6 separate regions of the Homo sapiens genome follow, and all the other regions are linked to region 1. Evidence: promoter capture Hi-C in human tissues and cell types (Jung and others, 2019). All regions are on one chromosome and are shown on one strand. The core of a region is centred on a gene start or on the middle of the fragment in contact, and the rest is flanking DNA. Distances in the headings are between cores, read along the strand shown.

Region 1 (3,720 bases), core at 396-2,895:
GGAGAGATTGAGGGGCCCCAAATCCCAGCACCTCAGGTCTATCCTGGGGTAACATCTTGGCAGAAAGTTGCCAGGGCCCCCTGGCTGTCAGAAAGCCAGGCAGCTGGGGCTACAGTGAGGAGGGGAGCGGGGGCGGGGAGCAGAGAGCACTGCGGGGCAGCACGGCTACTCACGACAGTTGCCCACTGGGCCCAGCACAGCTACCCAGATTTGCACACTGGGATGGACCCTAAGCAACACTTTGAAACTTGCAACTATTACCCATGTAAATTCCGCACACATGTGTAGTCACATGCGCATCCACATACACATAACAGAAGCCAGTGTCCTTCACCATGAGCCAGGCACTCCGGCAGTTTCTGCTCTATTTTATTTTACAAAATTGCTGGGGGTGACTGATGAAACTGATTTCAAAATGCACATTTGAAAAGCATGGTCCTAGCTGGCACCCCCTGGTGGCAGCCCGGGCCTCGGGTGTGGGTCCAGGTGGGATCCCCCCCATCCCCAACTCTGGGTTCTGAGCTGGGATAAAGGCCTCTTGGCGGTGTTGCTGGGGGCCACAGCCCCAACAGCGCCCTTCCTGCTCTCCCCCACCGGCCACAGAGCGTGAGTCCCGACCACCGCGTCCGCCGGCGCCCCTCAGTGGGCCTTTGTCCCAAGAAGCTGCCAAGCCAGGTGGGGACTGCTCTCACCGCCCGTGTGGCAGGCTGTCCTCTGAAGGACAGAGTCCTCTTCTCTCGTGTCCCTAAGCCTAGCAGGCAGTGGGAATGAACGGGCAGCCCGGTTGCTGGGCACCCATCTCCCCAGCCTAGCCGGTGTGTGGAGGATTGCAGCCCTTTAGCCCAGCCTGCCCAGGCAAGCCTGCCGGGGTGAGCAGGAGGGCTTCTGGGGTGAAGGGAGGTGGGGGAGGGAGGGAGACCACGGGCGGAGGCTCACCTGAACTGAATGCAGGAGGGGCAGTGCCTTTGCACCAGAAAGAGCCCATGTGTCCTTCTCACCATCCCCTGTGCTTACACCCCCAGTCAGCATGCTCCGGGGGTCCCTGAGCCGGGCCGCCCCAGACGGCCCTCCTTCCCTCCCACCCACCACCCCGCGACCCCTCCCAAACGTGTGCGCCAGGAAGATGACTCCAGGGTGCCTTTAGCTGGGGCTGTAGTGGTTGGGACGGGCGGCTGTATATCAGGGGTGAGTTCCAGGGAGACTTGGGGGCTTAGAAAACTTAGAAAACTTCTCCAAGTTGGGAGAGAATCCCGCCCGCCCTGCCGGAGGCGGGGCTCAGTGCCCTGAAGTGGAGGCGCCCGTGGGCCACCTCCCTCCCTGCAGCCGCAGCCGCTGCGCAGAGGCGCTGGCTCCTTCTCCTCCCACCTGGGACAGGTGTCTCCCCAGCCCCCGCTCCCAGGGGCCTCTCTCTCTCTCCCGCCCCTCAGGGTCGAGTCCCGGCAGGGGCTCGGGGATCGGGTAGTCAGTACCTCTCTGCGTCTCCAGCCGCCGGTAGTTGGGGACCCTGTGGCTGGAGTGCGTTTTCACCAGGAAGGAGCGCGGCATGTTCCCCTCCCGGGCGGCAGGCCGGGGTGGGCTGGGGCGGGAGGGGCGCGCCTGGGTCCGGACTGCTGCGTCCGCCGGCGCTTGAAGGGGTCAGGCTCATTAGCATAGCGCGCCGCCTCCGCCAACCAGCGCCCGGCGCGAGTGGGGCGGGGCCACGGGGGCGGAACTGAGGGCGAGGCGGGGTCTCGGGCAACACGCCCAGGACAGGTGCGCGGGCGGGACGGGGCGGGGAGCGCGTGGCCGCCGGTGTCCTCCCCACGGGAATTCTCTGGCGTGCGCGCCGCCGAGTCACACACCGACCCGTCGGGCCTGGCCACCCACTCGCCGTGAGTGAAGGGCAGAGTTCAAAGCTGTGTGGAAACCGAGCGAGAATCTCTTCCACAGAATGTGGAAGCGTCGGCCGAGCGCGGTCCTTGGAGAACCCTTGCTGCGGAGAATGACGCTCACTCTGCGGCCTGGCCTCGCCTCCCCATCCCTTCTGCAAACTCACAGGACAGGATTGATGGGGAGAGCCCAGGCGAAACGAAGCTGACCCTAGTGACCAGCCCTACTGGCGGCTCTGGAACAGGCCCGGGACCGGTGGCCTGGAGACAGTGGTCCTTTCTGGATGGGCTGCAGTCTCCGAAGGCTTCCCCCACTGGAGTCAGCCCTTTAGGAGTTTGTCCAGTGCCTCCAGAAAGCTGTTTTTTGGGGGACGGAGGACTTGGCCTGGAATTCTGGAATTCCCAGGGGGTCAGACATGGTTATGGGAAGTTTAATAAAACCGGTGAATCACGTGAATTCTGCAACAGCTGCACGTGTGACCTGGGCAATCCGTTTCCCTCCTTTGTGGTCCTGTAGAGCCCTCAGGGTCATAAAAAGCTGGGAGCCGCTGTGTCCAGTGTCTGGGTCTCTTTTGACATGGACATTTCATAACGTTGGGGGCCAGGTGGGGCCGTCTCTGGGCTGGCGTGCACACAGGGTGTCCCTGGCTGTGCCGCCGGCCTGCCTCCCCAGCAGGGCTTCCACCTCAGAGCTGGGTGGCCTTTGCCCCCTGTGGGCCGGGGGTGGAGAAGGTGGGGGGTGGTGAGTCCATGGAAGCTCTGAGGGACAGACAGCAGGGAGGAGGGCCGTGCCACACCAGCATCCCACGTCCCACATCACACGTCCAGGGTGTGAAAAGCTGGGCTAGTATCAGCCCCACTTTGCCAATGAAAAAAAACTAGGCTGTGAGTCTGGGCTCAGCAGCTCACGCCTGTAATCCCAGCACTGTGGGAGGCTGAGACAAGAGGACTGCTTGAGCCCAGGAGTTTGAGACCAGCCTGAAAAACAACATGAGACCCCGTCTCTACAAAAAAAAAAAAAAAAATTATTTTAATTAGCCAGGCGTGGCAACACCCATCTTCAGTCCCAGCTACTCAGGACGCTGAGGAGGGAGGATTGCTTGTTGCAGTAGCCTCCAGGAGGTGGAGGCTGCTGTGAGCTATGATGACCCCACTGCACTCCAGTCTGGACAACAGAGCAAGACCCTGTCTCAAAAAATTAAAAAAAAACAAAAAAGAAGACCAAGGCTGTGAGAGGTTAGGACACAGTGGGATTGGGACCCAGCCACACTCCAGCTTGTCTGCCACTTGGTGAGGGGGAGTGGAAGGACAGGTGGAGGTGCCCCTGGAAGAAGGTGCCCGCCTCTCCTGCAAGCATGGCCTGGCACCACCACGCCGGGAGTGTAGATTTCAGAGGACACATGCCTGCCTTCTGCTTATTCACCTGTTCCTCGCCTGGAAAGGTTTCTATTTATAGCCTCCCTTCCTTCTCTCTCTCCCTCGCAGACACAGATAACGCTTGCAGATACCTGAGCCAAGCCTCCACCCACACCGTCCCTCCCCGCCCACCTACCCGTTGTGTGGCCACCCGCCAAGCCCCAGCAAGCTTATCTCCTAATCCCAGCTAGAGCCTGGTGTTACTCAGGGCTGCTGTAGCCCTCCCGAGGAGAATGGCTGATCTCATCCCGGGAACGCCCTAGAGGGCCTGCGAGCACCTTTGGGGTGGGGTCCCAGGGCTGCCGCAACAACTTGCCCCCCAGGGACACTCAAGTCGGCTGCAGACTCACTCTTCAGCTGTGATGCACAGGGCGGTGTCCAGGCTGGACCCAAGAAGGCCCCACAGAGGGAAACATCAGCGTCCCCCTTCCCACAG
Region 2 (3,720 bases), core at 870-3,369, 890 kb after region 1:
AGAGTTAGGCACCTTTTTTTTTTTTTTGACAATTAAAAGAAATTTGCACATAAAAAAAAAAACCTGGAGGGTTAGATGTGGGGAGGTGATGGGCTGCTTTGGGGTCTGGAAATTTGTTTTTACTCCCTATCTGCATTGTCTAATATTTCAACAAGGAACACGGTTATTATTCCTGCGTGTATGTGTGTGGATCTCATTTCCTGTGTCTGGCCCTGCAGGGAAAGCTGGGAGGGGGAGCCTTGGAAAGATGGCTCCACATGGCCTGCGGGGTCCTTCCATTGTACCTGGGCCTACTGCGGGCTGATCCCTGAGCAGGGGCAGGCAGCGTCCAGACACCAGTGCCACAGGGGAATCGGCTTTTCCTTCTGTGGTTTCTCTCCATTAGAGCAGGCTGCAGTCAGGGCTGTCAGTCAGGAGACAGCAAGCCGGCCGAGGGCTGTGGCTGGAGATCCCAAATCGCCCTGGGCTTCAGAGACTCAAATTCCCAAACTCTGTGATCTTTCTTGGCTCCCTGCGTCCTTTGCTTGGAAGCCATCTGTTATTTTGCCAGGGTGCCGCTATGTGACAGCCAAGGGCTGAACTGGGGTGTTCCAGGTTTAAGCCGGGTACCCCTCAGACAGCCTGGTGGACCTCAGGCCTCACGCCACACTGCAGACGAGCAAACCTCAGGGCGGTGGTGAGGAGCTTTCGGGTGAGGTCAAGGCAGGAAGCGGAGCTTGGTCTGGGGAAAACTGTCCCAGGGCTGCTGGAACCGAGCGGGAGGCACGGCCTGCAGGAGCTGCCTGGGCGCCCGCACCCTTTGCCTGAATTTCGCATCCTTTTCCCATGGAAGTGGTTGGGGACCGAGGATGTGGCCTCCCGGCAGCCTGGAAGGCTGGGCTGAGGAGGACACAGGGCCGGGAAGGCCCAGACTGGTCCCTAGAGAGCGGGACTGGCCTCTGCCCACTGCGGGCTTCAGGGAGGAGGCGCAGAGGCCGGGGAGACAGCAGATGGGGCCCTGCAGGCCTCGCTGCGCCCTGACCTGTTCCTCGCCTCTTTAGCCAACCTCCCGGGAAGGCAGGAGCCGGTCTCCATGGCCTCTCCCGGCCCTGCCAGCCCCGTGGGGCCTCCCCGCCCTGCAGCCGCGCCCGGCGCCATCCCGCCGTCCGACCGCGAGGGGACGCCGCTGGCCGCGTTCCTCCTCCCAGGCCGAGGCTGCCTGTGCTGCCTCCCGCCGGCGGGGCCCTGAGCCTCCTCGCCCTGTCGGCGGCGGTCCCCTCTGACCGCAGGGTCTTCTTCTAGAGTCCTGATCGCCGAGGCTGAGCGGAGGCGCCCGGTCTTCCCGCCTCTTCAGTCTTAATGTCTCCCTCACCCTCGCCCCCCACCCCCGTGGCTTTTGGCGAGGTCCGTGCCCTATTTTTAGGCAGAAATCGGCAAAAAGAGTGGACTGCGAGGTGGTTTCTGTCCCCGCCGACGCCTCCTCTTCCGCTGCTCCCTCCCCCGGGACCGGTGATGGGGAAGGTGGGGGAGTGAGTTCAGGGCGGAGCGGGCCCACCCCCCACGGAACCCAGGCCTGCCCCGCCCCGCCCCGGCCTCGGGGGACTGGTGTGGACCGTGCCCCGCGGACCCCTCGGAATCAGACCGCGATTCAGCCCTCGGCCCCCCGGGACGGTCCTTCCAGCCCCAGACGAGCGCGGCGCCTGCACACAACAGGCGCCCACTAAATGCTTGTTGATGGAGGTGGCGAGTACCCGAAACCAGCGGAGCCTGGAAATGGGATCCTAGAGATCCGGGAAGGGCGCGGGGATCTGGTGCCAAGCTGGGGTCCCCCTTTTGCCTCCCCTAGTGTCTGCCTGGGTCCGAACCCGGGCTCAGGCCCCGCGCAGCTCGGAGCCTCCAGCCCGGAGCCGGTCCCTGGGCCGGGGATGCGCACAGCCGGGGAGGGCGCGCCCGACCTGACCCCAAAGCTATCAGTTGGGGGGGGGGTCCCCGGGGAATTAGAAGCTGTCTCCTCCCGGGCATCTCCGAGGGGCACCCCTGCCTCTGCCCCCTGCCCTCATTTCCCGCCGCGCCCCTCCCCGGCCCCGCCCCCCGGCCGCGCCCCACCCCCTGCAGTCCCCGCGCGGCGGCCGCCCGAGCCACGTGCGCCCGCGCCCGGCAGGCGTTCAGGGAAGCGCGGCCACGCCTGGGCCGGCCACCATTTCCCGGGCGCCGCGGCGGCGCCGACTCGCGGGCAGCGGCCCCTCAGTGCGCCCAGCCGGGCCCCCGAACGCCGGGAGCATGAGCGCGGGCTCGGAGCGCGGGGCGGCGGCAACCCCCGGGGGTTTGCCCGCGCCCTGCGCCTCGAAGGTGGAGCTGCGGCTCAGCTGCCGGCACCTGCTGGACCGCGACCCGCTCACCAAGTCCGACCCCAGCGTGGCGTTGCTGCAGCAGGCGCAGGGCCAGTGGGTGCAGGTAGGGCCGGGGCGTGGGAGGCCGAGAGGCCACCGGGCCGGGGCTGGCGCCGAGCTGGGGATGCGGAGACCAGAGCGGGCGCGCTGAGGCCAGTGGGGCGCAAGGCGGGGCCCCCCGGAGCTGGGGCTCAGCTCGGGGTCAGGGTTGGGGGTTACCAGGTCTGGGGGTGGGGTGTCCAGAGCTGTGGGGAGAGGCTGGGCTGGAGGAGGTGGCGGCGAGCGGGGTTCGGAGGAGAGAGGGGGGTGCCCCGCAGTGAGGGGTGCGGCCCAGGGTTCGGGGAGGGGGCCCCGGGCCAGAGTGAAGCGCCCAGGCATGAGGCGCGGGCAGGGGGCTCGACCAAGAGGCGCAAGGAGATTGAGGGGTGAGGGGCGCCGGCCGACGGGGGGCGGGAGGCTGGGCGGGAGCAGGCCGGCGAGGGAGCGCGCGCTGGGGTGCGGACCTCCAGGCGTCCGGGGCTCCCGCTCCAACGTGGGTCTCAAGCGAACCCGCTGTGATCGCGGTTGGGGTCCGAAGGGGCACGGGGCCGGCGCCAGACGGGCGCTTCCTCGGTCACCATCTCGCGTGAAACGCGTGGCTTCACCTCGAAAGGGCGAGAAACGCATGGCGCGAAGCCGCAGCGGGCGGAGGAGCCGGAACTCGAACCCCAGTCCGCGCGGGGCGCCAGCGCTTTTCCCCGGCGCAGGGGTCTCTCCAGGCTCCAGCGCGGGCCCGGGCGGCTGCTCGGGCGGTGGAAGGGACGCGGTCACCCGGTGGCGTCTCCGGTCATCCACCTTGAGGGTGAAGGGCCTGCCCCGCCCTCACCGCCTGTCCCCAGGGTTCCGGCTGCCCCCGGAGGCCCCGTGCCCGCCCCTCACAGCCTGAGCCCACCCTTCACATCCCGAGCCCACCATCCCCACGGAGGCCTCGTGCCCGCACCCTCAGAGCGTGAGCTGTACGGGTGGCCCATGTTTGCCCTTGGTTTGAGGTGCAGGATTTTTCAGGATTCTGAAATGAGTAGCCTACTGGCCCAGCTGGGTCTTGTCCTTACGGGGCAGTTGGACCAGGGAACTGCATGGGATGGGAGAGGCTGGTGAGCCCATGGTACCCCAGCCAGGAGGGAGGGCCCCCCTGTACCCTACGCCCCCTCCCCACTCAGCTGGTGCTGGGGAGCGGCCTGCACTTTAGGGCTGCCCAGCCCAGGGTGTGAATCTGATCTCGCCCCCGACTCAGCGTGTCATTCTCGTCCTCTGTGAGCCTCACTTTCCCCATCTGTGATCTGAGGGTGGAGCAGACAGTGGTGGCCAGGGG
Region 3 (3,720 bases), core at 658-3,157, 830 kb after region 1:
GGCCCAGGTTCTCCTCCCACTCAGCGTCCTGAGTAGCTGGGAAGTCAGGCATGTGTCACCACGTACAGCTACATTTTTGTGTTGTTGTTGTTGTTGTTGTTTATTATTATTTTTTTGAGACGGAGTCTTGCTCTGTCTCCCAGGCTGGAGTGCAGTGGCGCGATCTCCGCTCACTGCAAGCTCTGCCTCCAGGATTCCCGCCATTCTCCTGCCTCAGCCTCCCAAGTAGCTGGGATTACAGGTGCCCGCCACTATGCCCGGCTAATTTTTTGTATTTTTAGTAGAGACGGGGTTTCACCATGTTAGCCAGGATGGTCTCGATCTCCTGACCTCGTGATCCACCCGACTCGGCCTCCCAAAGTGCTGGGATTACAGGCGTGCGCCACTGCACCTGGCCTCCCCCATTTGTAAACGCTGATTTGTTCAGATTTTGAGACAGCTCTGTGTGAGGAGTGTCGTGCCGGCCCCTCTTGGTGGTGGCTGGGCTGCTGCTGTTGCCACTTGTCTGGAAACCATTTGTGAGTCGGAGTCTTGCTCTGTAAACCAGGCTGGAGTGCAGTGGTGTGATCTCAGCTCACTGCAACCTCCGCCTCCCGGGTTCAAGCAATTCTGCCTCAGCCTCCCAAGTAGCTGGGATTACAAGCGCCTGCCAACACGTCCGGCTAATTTTTGTATTTTTAGTGGAGACAGTGTTTCACCATCTCAGCCAGTCTGGTCTTGAACTCCTGACCTCGTGAACCACCTGCCTCGGTCTCCCAAAGTGCTGGGATTACAGGCATGAGCCACCACGCCTGGCGTGTTTAAGTTCTTTTAAAGCAACTTCATATATTAAAGGGATTCGTGATATTTTCCCAAATTTGTGTTCATAACTATTTTTTATTCCCTCACATTAGCAATTTAAGTAGCAAAGATATTTAACGTAAGTTAAAATAGTTTATTATTTTGTAATTAGGAAATACTGGACTAAGTGATATAGGATATGCTTTATTTCATATTTATAAATCTTATGGATATAAGTAGGTTTTTCAGATGGTTTTTGTTTTGCTTTGGTTATTTAGGAGTACACTGTTGTCCTGTATGCCTCCCCTGTGGTTGCAAAACTTAATTGTTAAATCCTTTCTCTATTTCTCATAGGTGGTACTTTCTATTTTAACACCTCAAGGTTGAAGCAGAAGAATAAGGAGAAGGATAAGTCGAAGGGGAAGGCGCCTGAAGAGGACGAAGGTATATTCATCTGATGTTCTTCAGTCAGTAGCTGCCTCTGGATGTCTTTACATTTCTGTTTTCCTTTTAGCAAGGTGAAACCAGTCTGGAAAATGGGGAGATGGGCCGGGTGCAGTGGCTCACACTTGTAATCGAAACGCTTTGGGAGGCCCAGGTGGAAGGATCACTTGAGGCCTATACCACATAGCGAGACCCTGTCTCACTGCAAATTAAAAGGCTGGGCGTGGTGGCTCACACCTGTAATCCCAGCACTTTGGGAGGCTGAGGCAGGCGGATCACCTGCACCCTGGCCAACATGGTGAAACCCCGTCTTTACTAAAAATAGAAAATTAGCCGGGCGTGATGGCACACGCCTGTAATCCCAGCTACTCGGGAGGCTGAGGCAGGAGAATTGCTTGAACCTGGGAGGTGGAGGTTGCTGTGAGTGGAGATCATGCCATTGCACTCCAGCCTGAGCAACAAGAGCAAAACTCCATCTCAAAAAAAAAAAAATTTAAATTTAAATTTAAAAAGACCCTATCTATACAGAAAGAAAAGAAGAAAATAATTGGCCAGGCGTGGTGGTGTGCACCTGTAGTCATAGCTCAGGAGTTGGAGGAGCTTGAGCCCAGGAGTTGGAGGCTCAGCTTCAGACTCACAGCCCCAGGGGGCAGAAGGGTTGAACTCAGCTTCAGGAATGCTTTGCTTTTGGATCCTTGAGGCCTCTCGCTGGAAATCAGCGTTGTTAAGATGGACGCCCTGCTCAGCAGAGCTCATCTTTCTAGAAAGGCACCTGGCCTTGGAAGGCGAGTGAGGAACTGTCATAAGGACTTTTTCTTCCCATGTTGCTTTTCAGGAAAGCTTTCAGGATGTGGAAATGATGGTTCAGCTATTGGATGAGGGGATTATTATTGTGAATTCGAGTTTAGCAGGAGTTTGTTTCAGGAGTGACGTCCTTCTTGATTGATTTTGTGTGAGACGCTGCATTTGCCAAGGCCAGGGACAGCTTTACTCTGTGAGAGAGGAGCTCTGACTCTCCCTACTGAGCTCTCGAGGGGAGGTCATAACTGCGGGAAGGGACACCAGTGTTTCGCAGGTGGATTCAGTTTAGGCGTTTCTGGCTTTAGGCTCATCTTCAGCTTACTGTTGGTTTTACGGTAAGTGTCAATGCTTACAGCCACTCAGAACTATCTTCTAAAAGACTTCTGAATCTTCATACAAAATTGTTCTGAATTGATTTCAGGGCTCTTTCCCTGTATACTTCAACATTTCAATAAAGTGTGTCCTTTGACTTTTTTTTTTTTTTTTTTTTTTTTTTTTTTTTGCCAGAATCTCACTCTGTTGCCCCGGCTGGAGTGCAGTGGTGCGATCTCAGCTCAATGCAACCTCCCCCTCCCGGGTTCAAGCAATTCTCCTGCCTCAGCCTCCGAAGTAGCTGGGATTACAGGTGCTCACCACCACACCCTGCTAATTTTTTGTTTTTTGTTCGTTTGTTTGTTTTTGAGACGGAGTCTCGCTCTGTCGCCCAGGCTGGAGTGCAGTGGCACAATCTCGGCTCACTGCAAGCTCCACTTCCTGGGTTCATGCCATTCTCCTGCCTCAGCCTCCCTAGTAGCTGGGACTACAGGCACCCGCCACCGCACCCGGCTAATTTTTTTGTTTTATTAGAGACTGGGTTTCACCATGTTAGCCAGGATGGTCTCGATCTCCTGACCTTGTGATCTGCTCACCTTGGCCTCCCAAAGTTCTAGGATTACAGGCGTGAGCCACCGCGTCAGGCCCTCTTTTTGTATAGTAGAGATGAGGTTTTGTCTTGTTGGCCAGGCTGGTCTCAAACTCCTGACCTCAGGTGATTCACCCACCTTGGCCTCCCAAAGTGCTGAGATTACAGGTGTGAACCACCGTGCCTGGCCTTGACCTTTTTTTTTTTTTTTTTTTGAGACGGAGTCTCGCTCTGTCGCCTGGGCTGGAGTGCAGTGGTGTGATCTCAGCTCACTGCAAGCTCCGTCTCCCAGGTTCACGCCATTCTCCTGCCTTAGCCTCCCGAGTAGCTGGGACTACAGGTGCCCGCCACCATACCCGGCTCATTTTTTGTATTTTTAGTAGAGACTCGGTTTCACCGTGTTAGCCAGGATGGTCTCAATCTCCTGACCTCGTGATCTGCGTGCCTCAGCCTCCCAAAGTGCTGGGATTACAGGAGTGGGCCACCGCACCCAGCCCTGGACCTTTTTTTTTTTTAACTTTTATTTTGTATTTATTTATTTATTTTTGAAACGGAGTCTCGCTCTGTTGCCCAGACTGGAGTCCAGTGGTGCGATGTCGGCTCAGTGCAACCCCTGCCTCCTGAGTTCAAGCGATTCTCCTGCCTCAGCCTCCTGAGTAGCTGGGATTACAGGCATGCACCACCATGCCCAGCTAATTTTTGTATTTTCAGTAGATACAGGGTTTTGCCATGTTGGCCAGACTGGTCTTGAACTCCTGACCTCGTGATCTCCCCACTTCGGCCTCCCAAAGTGC
Region 4 (3,720 bases), core at 860-3,359, 800 kb after region 1:
TTTTTTCTAGTTTAACTACAGTTGCAGAGTAAAATCAGAGGACTTCTGTAATCATTCTCTAACAGAACTCGAAGTCTTCCAGGGCAGCCAATACTTACTAAGAGAAATCAAGGTCTCAGAGAAACCAAAGAAACAGCCTCAGGGTCTCCGATTTTGAACGTTATGCCATAGACTAGGTCTGCACACAACAAAAACAGTAACTGTTTCGATGGCACTTTTTCCACAGGTAATATCATCTTATATGTTTGGCTAAGTCTCAACATCCCAAAAAGGATCAAAAGATTCTCTAAGTTTTGCAGTTCAACAACTGTGCACACTTTTATTTCTCATTTCAAGTGTTAAGGATATTGCTCTAATGACTGCATAAAACTCTCTCCTCATGTAAGAAAGCCTGAAATCTAATTTCTCTACCATAAAACCCTGTTCTTGCAAAAGGATACAAAACTACTCATAATCTACAAAAACGATGAATCCTAAGCATGTTACATAGAAGGAAAACAGTTTCAAAGCATAGGGAGCTGTTAGACCAGCTTCATCTTCCCAAGCCTCTTCCAAAACTTCTTGGAAGCTGATATATAACACTAACCTTCCAAAAACACAACAGAAGCAGAAAATCTTAATGGGGCACCAGGAAAAGAGCAAGCCTCGAGAAAAATCAAGACTCCCCCCGACCAACCTTCCCAAATAACACAAACACAAGAGTTAACAGTACAATCCCTCTTTGAGAGGGGACTGAATCAATGTGGCAGGGCCAACCCTACACACACACACACACGCGCGCGCGCGCGCGCGCGCACACACATACACCACACACACAGCTACCGCCCTGCCAGGGGATGATGAAATGAGGAACGGAAATTAACATTTCAGGCAACGTCTCACATTGTTCCTTGAGGCCAAGGGCTGCTGTTGCAGCCGCCACCGCCACCGCTTTCCTCCCAGCCACCCCCCACACCCGCCCGCCTACCCTCCCCCTAACACCCCCCACACGGCTGCCCGCATTCCTGCCCCTCCTCGGCCTACGCGCGCCTCCTGCAACCCCGACGCCCCCAGGTCCCCAGTTCGCCCTCCCCCTCCGGCTCGGAGCCCGAGAGCCGCCTGCTCTCATTTCAAAACAGCGATAATAATAGGGACGCTGAGAATAACAACTACGACCAGCACGGCGAAGGCGCCCCTCTCGCGGGTCAGAGGTCGGCGCCCCAGCTCCGCAGAACCCGGCGCCCGGCCAGCGCCCCCTGGCAGCCCCTCCCGGCAGCCTCAGGTCCCCAAGACCTGCAGGCCCGCCCCGAAGCCCCCCGTCCGCCCCTCACGGCCGCTCCGAGCCCCCGAGGCCCGCCCCGGAGCCCCCTGTCCGCCTCTCACGGCCGCCCCGGGCCCCCACGGCCCCCAGGCCCGCCCCGGAGCCCCCAATCGGCCCCTCAGAGCCGCCGCGGGCCCCCGGCCACCCAGGCCCGCCCGGAGCCCCCGTCCGCCCCTTACGGCCGACCCAAGCTCCGCCGACCTCCCAGGCCCCCCCCGGAGCCCCCTATGGGCCCCTCACGGCCACCCCGGGCCCCCAAAGACCCCCGGCTGCCCCGAACCCGGACCCGTAGGCCCGCTCCGGGACCCATTATTGGTCCCTCACGATCGCCCCGGGCCCCCAAAGACCCCCGCCCACCCGGCCCCGACCCCCCAGGCCCGCCCGGAGGCCCGCGGCGCAGCTCCGTCGCCGGGGAAGGCCTGCAGGCCGCAAGGCCGCGCGAATGCCCCGTGCCCGCCCCGACCACCGCCCCCAGACCAGCGGCGCCTCTCACCGTGCTCCGAGGGCTGCGCGGCTCCGCGACGGCTCAGCGGCGGGGCGCGGGCGCTGCCCATGCAGCCCGCGGCCGCGTTTCCCGGGCCGCGCGGCCCGAGCGGCAAGGCGGCGGCGGCGGCGGCGCGGGCTCGGGCCCGGCAGAGCTGCGAGGGACGGCGGGAGGCGAGCCCGCCCCTCGGGCGCGCCCACGGCTCGGGCGAGAGCCGCGGCTCCCGGTGCGGACGCTACTGATGGGGCGTCTGGCCGCGGGCTCGGCGGCGGCGCCTCCCCGGCTGGGGCCCTCGGTCCATCGCGCACCGTCTCAGGGCGGCCTCTGGCTCCAGGACCCAGCGGCGGCTGCGGCGGGAGCCGGCCGCATGAGACGCTCCCGCCCATTGGCCCGCCGTATCCGCCACCGCCATTGGCCCGCCCCGGCCGGCCGCAGGGGCTGTGCACGTCACAGCGCCGTGAGTTAGTGCGCTAATGGAGTGAAGGAGAGAGGCGGGATTGACAGCCTCTCTGGCGGTCCGGAGGCGGGACTAGGAGGACGTCCCGGTAACGATTGGGCAGGGTCCTGCGTAAGGGCGCATGCGACACTGGAAGTAGCGAGCAACTGGATTGGCTGCCTCCGTCGCAAAGGAGGGTGGGTCTTGCATTCTCGGGCCTGACGATTGGTCTTTCCAAGTGCCGGAAGCAACAGGGATGTCGTCTGGAAACAAAATCTGGTATTGAAGCGCAGGGAGACAAAACGTCCACCTCTAGAGCCGAGGCGGCGGTTGCCTGTCGCGTGCCCGTGGTCTTCTGCCTGCCCCCGGACATCTCGGGCCACGTCCGGCCCGGCCTCCGGCCGCGCTGCCCTAACGGGCGTCACGGGGCATGAAGAGCTCTGGGCGGCTGCGAGGGGAGGGTACCGGGGCAGCGGGGCGGTCGCTCGGGGCTCCCGCGCGGTGACTCTTGCTCTGCCGTCGAAGAGAACGGCCCTCGGGCGCGTCGCGGCCGCGGCTCCAGAGCCCCTGGGCCTCGCGCTCTGAGAGCCTGAGCCGCTTGAGGAGGCCAAGCGCCCACGAACCGCATTCCCTGCCTTGCTAGTTAGTTCTCCAACACGCGAAAAAGGTAGACGAGGACTGGTTTTCTTTGCAGCTAAAATGAATCAAGCCTCTGGTAAGTGTGGATCCTGTTCTAAGTGCACCTGTGTTCTCCTCCAGAACTAAACCAAAAAGCAAGGTGAACAAAATCGGTGCTCCTTCAGTTTCTTCTTTAGTTCTGCATGTTACTGGGGACTAAGACAACGGGTAAGCAAACTATTTATAGGCCTCAATTTACGAAATAACGGAATTGCAAAGTCCGGAGTGGATAGGACCGTGAGGACGGTCTTTTTTCTTGGGCAACACGCATTATGGTCGAGAGATCAGTTGTTAAACCGCCCCTGTTCAAATCCCAGCCCTACCAGTGACTAGCGGTCACCCTGTAGGCTTTGTCTCTCAGATCTTCAGTTTCTTGGTGGGTAAAATGGGAACTACAAGTAGCACCTATTCTTTTTTTTTTTTTTTTTTGAGTCAGGGTCTCACTCTGTCGCCCATGCTGGAGTGCAGTGCTAACTGCAGCCTCAGCTTCCCGGGCTCAGAGGATCCTCCCACCTTAGCCTACTAAGTAGGTGGGACCACAGTCAGGCATCACCACACCCGGCTAATTTTTTAAATTTTCGTAGAGATAGGCTCTCTGTGTGTTTCCCAGGCTGGTCTTGAAATCCTGGACTCAAGCGACCCTCCCTCCTCAGCTTCCCAAAGTGCTGGGATTAGAGGCATGAGCCACGGTGCGGGCCAGGAGCACCTATTTCATAGGCCCATCGGGAAGATTAAATGAAGGGGCTGTGGAGGCTGTAGCACGGTGCTTGGCACGTATGTGAGCTCTGGGGAAACATTAGTTATGCTATAACTGGACCTTCA
Region 5 (3,720 bases), core at 631-3,130, 650 kb after region 1:
CCCGCAGCTCTGGGGAGAAATGACACCTGCAGGCCAAGACAAATGCAAGAAAACAGCCTCGTCTGCTCACTGATTCTCACCAACTTCCTCTATAAAATGAGGACAAGAACCCATTCTCCTAAAGGATTTTGTGGGGATTAAATGAAAAAGCACTATCTAAATCCAAGTTATCATCACTGTAATGGCTTTAGAAAAAAGCAAACGACAAACACAACGAGAGAGGCGCTGAGACCAGGCAGGGCTCTCCTCCGGCAGGGCCTGGTCTGCACTGCCCTCTCTGAGGAAAGTGCCCCGCTGCCCTGACCTCCCTAGTTTCACACCTCCACACCTCCAAGGAGGTTATCCTGGTACAACTGAGAAAGCAAGCAATTCCCTTAGAAACGTCCATTTCTTTCCTTTATGCTCAAATGTTTTATTACTCCTTAGGGCTGCTTTGTTTTTTAACGCAAGGGTCCACAGTTGAGAACGTAGTTACAAACTCAAGAAACGAGCTGCAACAGAACAGCGGGGCTGCTCCACGCTTCTCAGCCATTTTCCCATCCTGTGCACCCGGGGAATTTCACACGTGGTCCCCCAGAGTGACAGGGAACCCCCAGGGAAGAAGGGCCCCTGTGGGGCATGCAGAAAAACGCCTGCCCCCTGGTGTGAGGTCACAGACTCAGTGGCCAAGCTCAACAATGCTCTGGGAACTCCAGTCAAAGATGCATCACAACTTTTGGGTCATGCCTAAGGTCAATTCCAGAATCATTTTAGCATGTTAAACAGACACTGAAAATAAAACATATTTTATTTTTTAAAGCAGCTTTAGGTTCACAGCAAAATTGAGCATGAAGTACAGAGGGTTCCCCTGCACCCCCGGGCTCAGCATCCCCACGAGAGTGGCCGTTTGTTACAGCTGAGACCCCCCTGGACACAGCATCATCACCCACAGGCCGCACGACCTCAGGGTCCACCGGGTGCTGTGCAGTCTATGGTTGGACGAACGTATCCTGATGTGGACCCACCGTTGTGGTATCATACAGAGTAGTTTCACTGCCCCAGGTCCCCCGTGTTCCTGCTGCACAACCCTCCGTCCCTCCCTCTCCCCAGCCCCTGGCGTCACTGATCTTTGTGCTGTCTGCACAGTTTTGCCCTTTCCTGGATGTCAGAGTCGGAACCCTACAGTGTGTAGTCCTTGGAGACGGGCTGCTTTCACTCAGGCCTGGCAGCTCGTCTGTTTTTAGGGCCTTGTAATAGTCTGTCGTCTGGATGGACCTTGGTTGACTGATCCATTCACCCTCTGCAGGACATCTTGGCTGCTTCCAAGTTTTGGCAATTATGAATAAAGCCATTTTGTGAAAGTGAAATAATACAGAACAGGAAACATTAGGGGGCACTGCACACCATCACAGAAAGGGACGGTATTATTCTGTGAGTATGTTCCCAGTATGTGGGCGTGTGTTGTGAACAGAGAGATAAACTACTTTCTCACCACTGGAAGCAGTCAGGACAATTCAAATGCTGGCCTAACTGGTTAAGAGCCCTCAATCTGTGGTCAGATATATCTAAGTTTCTCAATCTATAAAATACAGAAATAAGGCCAGGTGCAGTGGCTCAAGCCTGTAAAACAAGCACTTTGGAAGGCTGAGGTGGGTGGATCACTTAAGCCCAGTTCAAGACCAGCCTGGGTAACATGATGAAACCCTGTGTTTTAAAAAAAAAAAAAAAAAAAAAAAAAAAAACAGAGAGAGAGAGAAAGAAAGAAAAAACACTGTTCCCAAGCTGCGGGCTCAGGACAATGTCTGATGCCTGGCCTAGCCCTCATCAATGGCCTTCACAATCCCTGCTGACTGGGAGTCAACCCCCAGTGAGTGTACTGCCAATACGGCCAAGTTTCTGAAGTTGGTGACATGTGAGGGTACCCCAAGACTGAACAGAAACAACCTCCTCTCAGGTTCTGAGTGGGTCCAGCTCTTCTTACCCCTCCAAGCCTGCCATTCTCTGAGGAGTCCTCTCTTCCTCCACTGCTCTGCTTCCTCTCACAAAGGGGGAGTGTCCCACCACGTCCAACTCCAGGCTGGCAAAGTGACGAGAAAACACCCCACCCATGTGGGCAGTGGGCATGCGGCATGCTATGGGGCCATGAGAAGCAGCCAGGTGGGTAGGCCAGACCCTGACCCAGAGCAAGCAGAGCCCAGCGCAGTCTCAGCCACGCTCCATGAGGGGCCACATCCACGAGGGCCCAGGAGCAACATCCCAGGCACACCCCAGGGATGAGCAGCACAGGCCGCCAACCACGTCATACCACACTCACTTGTGCAAAACACCCTCAAACTGCAAAAAGCCCACCCACGTGTCCACCAGCAGAAGAGCAAATGAGTCCAGGTGGCCCACAACACACGGGGCGCACGTGTCCATAGACAGCACACTGGATTCGAAGAGCCAGACACGAGTGTGTCTGCTGTGGCCTTCTGCATGCATGAGGGCCCCATGGTGCTGGGGGCCAGGCAGACAGTCAAGCAGCAGAGTGGAGGGGAGGTCCAGGAGGAGATCCCACAGGTACATGTGACATGAGCTCTATCGTATGTGCACCTAAGATGTGTGCCATTTCCTCCACGGATGTTATACCGCAAAGAACAATAAAAAACGACTAACACTGATTGCTGACCACCTCCCCAAATAACTAATCAGGACACACCCTGATGCCCCATGTCCGGCCTGTGGGGGCACTGTGGAAAGCACAGGAAGTGAGCTCAGTGCGTGCCTTCCCCATTGTCCTGGCGTTCCATGCAGGCTGGGAGACGCGGGTGACAGCCTCACACCACCCCTGTTCCCAGAAGAGGCCAGTGCACCCCCAAGCAGGGGCTGCAACAGGGCTGCACAGAGGGCTCCAGTTCCTTCCAGCACAGGAACAAATCCACACCGAGGCATCCGTGAGTCCCACAGGTCCCAGAAGCATGGGAGCAGCTTGAGGCCTCTGCATTCAGGGGTCTCTGCCGTCCTGAGCTTCAGGATGAGTGGGTTCCCACCTAGCACGCAGTACGCAGTGGGTTAGGGCAGGTGCTCTCCCTCCTCTCCCTATGAACGCTATACCACTCCCATGAAAGCCTGTGCGTGCTGCCTCAGGACCCTGTAGCAGAACAGCGAGTGACGTCGCTTTGGCAGGGAACCTTTGGTTTGCAAAGCCCCGTCACACACACAAGCTGAGGTAAGATGACAAGTCTGTGTCTCTGCACCTCAGCTGAGCCCTCAGGACACAGCACATGAGCGCCCAGGGGCCTGCAAACAGCAAGGACCAAGGCATCACTGACCGTGACAGGCCCCAGTGTGTGACAGTGAGAGGCCCCAGTGTGGGTTCTCACAAGCTTGTTTTACGGTTTGACCCAGAGAGTACCTGTGAGTTTCCCCTACAGCTGGTGCTTCTAAAGGGCTAGGAGAAACGCAGGGCAGGATCCCCACACGCCAGCAGCTGACTGGCCAGACCCCTGCCTGTGCTGAGGCATCCGCCGCAAACATGACCGTGCAACATGCTTCAAGATGCCCTGTGACTCTCTCAGATGGGTCTTTTATTAGAGTTTCTAAATAAAGAAGTGATGGCCAACATCACAGGAAACCTTAGATACTATTCCTGCCAGTTGGTTTGAAAAAGCTTTAACTGTTAATTTGCTGATCGTTTTCAGCCACACGGTTTTCTGCCATGTAATCCACAGAACCCAGGCCTCTGGCCACTTGTCCAGGATA
Region 6 (3,720 bases), core at 281-2,780, 550 kb after region 1:
ACTTGCTGGAAACATGCACTGCATATACAAATCAACTCACTGCATATGCACATCAACTCACTGCATATGCAACTCAACTCACACCGTATATGCAACTCAACTCACACCGTGTATGCAAATCAACTCGCACTGCGTATGCAACTCAACTCGCACTGCGTATGCAACTCAACTCGCACTGCGTATGCGAATCCACTCACTGCCTATGCAACTCAGCTCGCTCTGCGTATGCAACTGAGCTCGCTCTGCGTATGCAACCCAGCTCGCTCTGCGTATGCAACTCAAGTCGCACTGCGTATGCAACTCAGCTCGCTCTGCGTATGCAACTCAGCTCGCACTGCGTATGCAACTCAGCTCGCACTGCGTATGCAAGTCAGCTCGCTCTGCGTATGCAACTCAGCTCGCTCTGCGTATGCAACTCAGCTCGCACTGCGTATGCAACTCAGCTCGCACTGCGTATGCAACTCAGCTCGCTCTGCGTATGCAACTCAGCTCGCTCTGCGTATGCAACTCAGCTCGCTCTGCGTATGCAACTCAGCTCGCACTGCGTATGCAACTCAGCTCGCTCTGCGTATGCAACTCAGCTCGCTCTGCGTATGCAACTCAGCTCGCACTGCGTATGCAACTCGCACTGCGTATGCAACTCAACTCGCACTGCGTATGCAACTCAACTCGCACTGCGTATGCAACTCAACTCGCACTGCGTGTGCAACTCAACTCGCACTGCGTGTGCAACTCAACTCACACTGCGTATGCAACTCAGCTTGCTCTGTGTATGCAACTCAACTCGCACTGCGTATGCAAATCAACTCACTGCATATGCAACTCAGCTCGCACTGCATATGCAACGCAACTCAACTCATACTGCATATGCAACTCAACTCACACTGTATGCAACTCAGCTCGCTCTGCATATGCAATTCAACTCGCACTGCGTATGCAAATCAACTTACTGCATATGCAACTCAACTCACTGCGTATGCAACTCAACTCGCACTGCATATGCAACTCAACTCGCACTGCGTATGCAACTCAACTCGCACTGCGTATGCAACTCAGCTCGCACTGCGTATGCAACTCAACTGTTGCAAGTACTTATTTCCGGCCACTTCCTTTTTCTAACTACCACACCAAGCCAGTATTTCTCCTCCCTGAAGTCAGCCCAGGATGAGGCACTAGACAGCAGGACATGCTGTATGCCCTTGGGCCTGCTGGAAGTATGCAGACTAGCCAGCCCCAGACTTCATCCTGCCCTGTCCTGCCTTTCCTGTGAAAACCCTGTGGCCTCTGCCTCCCCTGGCTCTGACTTCTGCCTCCTGCCCAGCTCTGCAGCTCCCCTTGGGCCCTGCCTGGAGTGATGTGCCGCCTTCTCTTGACACTGTGAGTGATAAACTTTCCATGTCAGGAACCTGTGTGTGTCACTCACTCACCTTGACGAGTCCGCGTCTAGGCCCCACCAGTGGTGTGGTTTTCCTCATAGTCTCTCTACCTAAGCACATGTCTGTGACAAGGTCTTACCCAGCCCAGGGATTCTTGAACTATCTGTAGGAACTGCCATGTTGACTCCTGGGCAGTTTTATTCTTTCTCTCTACTCGTTCAACCTTCTTAGGGAGTGACGTTTTTTCCAAAGTGGTTGTGAAACAGCATCTCCTTGGGGTGTTGGTTTGCACTTCTCTTCATTACTGATAGTATGAACATGGTTTTGCTTACGCTGGCTATTTTCCTTTTTGGATGAAGTACCTGGTCTTGTTTTTTCCTGGTTTGTTTGATCTTTGTTCTTTTTTAGAAATAGTGAGGCTGTTGTGAGGTGAGTCACCACTTGTGACTTAGAAGATTGCAGTGGTTTCCACTTCACCTGTTTCCACTTTTGTGATGATGCCTTAAGGAAAAAGATTGTGCCAGGTGTGGTGGCTCAGGCCTGTAATCCCAACACTTTGGGAGGCCGAGGTGGGTGGATCACAAGGTCAGGAGATCAAGACCATCCTGGCCAACATGGTGAAACGCCATCTCTACTAAAAATAGAAAAATTGGCTAGATGTGGTGGTGCACGCCTGTAATCCCAGCTCCTTGGGAGGCTGAGGCAGGAGAATTGCTTGAAGATGGGAAGCACAGATTGCAGTGAACCGAGATCGCGCCACTGCACTCCAGCCTGGCAACAGAGTGAGACTCTGTCTCAAAAAAAAAGGAAAAATATTTCTTAATTTTGGCATACTCAAATTTATACAACCTTTCCTTTATCTTCATCAGAAATTTCTTTTCTCCTAAGGCCTTAAATATGCTGTACTATTTTGGCTTCCACAGTTTCTATGTTTTATCCCAAGTTGCTTAATCCATTTGGAGTTGATTTTTGTTGACCGTATCTGTAGAGTGTAATGTCATTTTTCCCACTATGGACATAAAAATTTTTGCAAGGCCTCTTTTTTTTAATGAAGAAAAGAGGTTTATTTTGTTCACAATTCTGAAGGCCTGGAGGGTCCCAGAAGCTTGGCACCAGCACCCACTAGGCTCCAGATCGGGGCCTCATGCTGACTTCCGTTTTCACACAACGAGTGGGAAACAGGTGTCCTAACACTGTGAGAGAAAAAATCCGAAAGTTTAGTTTTTCCCATTCGCTTGCCCTGGCCTCCAGGCAGTCCTGCAGCAGCAAACACATCATCAGCCTTAGGAGCTGGCCTGTGAGGTTGACCACTCTGTAGGTGGACGAGCCTCGCCCGAGAAGAGACATGAGCAGTTCTGCGTAGGCTTTAAGACAGAATCAACATGGAAAGCACGACCCACATGGTTTCAATAGAACTTGCCTCCTGAACCTGACTAGGTTACTCGCCTGATGAACCAGTATCTCCATCACCCGTGGGACTGACAGACCCAGAGTGTCATAACCTAAAATTCAGAAGTGTAGACTATAATCTTAAATTATTCAGCATATGTGCAACAGCCTTGGGGAGCAGTGTTATGATACCAAATGGCTAACATTCATGACCTCAGTATCCTGGAAGAAAAGGAGAAAGTGTGATGTAGTAAAACCACTTGAAAAAATAATGATGAAACATTTCTCATATTTGGTGTAAGATAAAAACTTAAGTTTGAAGAGGTTCCATGAGCCCCAGACAGGATAAACCTAAAGAAAACCAAGCCCAGGCCGGGGGCGGTGGCTCACACCTGTAATCCCAGCACTTTGGGAGGCCGAGGTGGGCGGATCACAAGGTCAGGAGATCATGACCATCCTGGCCAACACAGTGAAACCTCGTCTCTAGTAAAAAAAAAAAAAAAAAAGAAAAATACAAAAATTTAGTTGGGCGTGGTGGCGGGCGACTGCAGTCCCAGCTACTGGGGAGGCTGAGGCAGGAGAATGGCGTGAACCCGGGAGGCAGAGCATGCAGTGAGCTGAGATTGCACCACTGCACTCCAGCCTGGGCAACAGAGCGAGACTCTGTCTCAAAAAAGAAGAAAGAAAAGAAAACCAAGCCCCTGCCACCACGAAGCTGCCGAAAGCTACAGAGTGAAAGTCTTGGAAGGAGGCTGAGAAAGTGGACACAGTGCTTCCAGAAGAACAATTCAATTGACCGGGTTTCTCGTCGGAAGCCATAGAGGCCAACAGGAAATGTAGGAGCATTTTTCAAGTTCTGAAATAAAAAGAAATGCCAACCCAGATTGCTATATCCAACAAAATATCCTTTAGGAATGAAACAGAAGTAACGATGAGGCAATACAAAGAATTGCCT

The links. The method cuts DNA at HindIII sites, captures the fragments that hold promoters and counts their contacts. A contact is called where the count stands out against the background at its distance.
Region 2: a contact is called between the fragment with the promoter of CPNE7 here and the fragment with the promoter of SNAI3 in region 1, in 3 of the 25 tissues and cell types used here (heart left ventricle, heart right ventricle and spleen).
Region 3: a fragment that was not itself captured here is called in contact with the fragment with the promoter of SNAI3 in region 1 in 3 of the 25 tissues and cell types used here (adrenal gland, bladder and small bowel).
Region 4: a contact is called between the fragment with the promoter of ANKRD11 here and the fragment with the promoter of SNAI3 in region 1, in 1 of the 25 tissues and cell types used here (dorsolateral prefrontal cortex).
Region 5: a contact is called between a fragment that was not itself captured here and the fragment with the promoter of SNAI3 in region 1, in 1 of the 25 tissues and cell types used here (dorsolateral prefrontal cortex).
Region 6: a contact is called between a fragment that was not itself captured here and the fragment with the promoter of SNAI3 in region 1, in 4 of the 25 tissues and cell types used here (IMR-90 fibroblasts, aorta, dorsolateral prefrontal cortex and 1 more).

What each region holds. Positions count from the first base shown.
Region 1 is chr16:88,684,862-88,688,581 of GRCh38, forward strand. It overlaps SNAI3 (snail family transcriptional repressor 3), which reads right to left and starts at 1,646. Exons shown (of 3, transcript NM_178310.4): 1 at 1,470-1,646. The coding sequence starts at 1,545. SNAI3-AS1 (SNAI3 antisense RNA 1) reads left to right here. Exons shown (of 4, transcript NR_024399.1): 4 at 1,930-2,325. RefSeq lists silencers at 1,257-1,416, 1,467-1,926. The HindIII fragment of the contact is 11,241 bases long and covers 1-3,720 here.
Region 2 is chr16:89,573,639-89,577,358 of GRCh38, forward strand. It overlaps CPNE7 (copine 7), which reads left to right and starts at 2,120. Exons shown (of 15, transcript NM_153636.3): 1 at 2,120-2,433. The coding sequence starts at 2,260. RefSeq lists silencers at 326-583, 1,044-1,273, 1,514-1,583. The HindIII fragment of the contact is 23,727 bases long and covers 1-3,720 here.
Region 3 is chr16:89,511,814-89,515,533 of GRCh38, forward strand. It overlaps SPG7 (SPG7 matrix AAA peptidase subunit, paraplegin), which reads left to right. Exons shown (of 17, transcript NM_003119.4): 3 at 1,135-1,224. Among named protein-coding and RNA genes, the nearest start is that of SPG7, 5.3 kb to the left of the region's middle. The HindIII fragment of the contact is 3,235 bases long and covers 291-3,525 here.
Region 4 is chr16:89,488,452-89,492,171 of GRCh38, forward strand. It overlaps ANKRD11 (ankyrin repeat domain containing 11), which reads right to left and starts at 2,110. Exons shown (of 13, transcript NM_013275.6): 1 at 1,794-2,110. LOC101930112 (a long non-coding RNA gene) reads left to right here and starts at 2,519. Exons shown (of 2, transcript XR_933895.4): 1 at 2,519-2,935. RefSeq lists enhancers at 1-66, 656-1,169, 1,170-1,684 and silencers at 966-1,035, 1,076-1,185, 1,266-1,315, 1,890-2,369, 2,570-2,659 and 1 more. The HindIII fragment of the contact is 15,043 bases long and covers 1-3,720 here.
Region 5 is chr16:89,332,453-89,336,172 of GRCh38, forward strand. The region is part of intron 2 of ANKRD11 (ankyrin repeat domain containing 11); the gene reads right to left. The region is part of intron 1 of LOC128462377; the gene reads right to left. Among named protein-coding and RNA genes, the nearest start is that of ZNF778, 120 kb to the left of the region's middle. RefSeq lists a silencer at 3,230-3,359. The HindIII fragment of the contact is 3,212 bases long and covers 275-3,486 here.
Region 6 is chr16:89,232,742-89,236,461 of GRCh38, forward strand. ZNF778 (zinc finger protein 778) reads left to right here. Exons shown (of 7, transcript NM_001201407.2): 7 at 1-3,720. Among named protein-coding and RNA genes, the nearest start is that of ZNF778, 17 kb to the left of the region's middle. The HindIII fragment of the contact is 6,577 bases long and covers 1-3,720 here.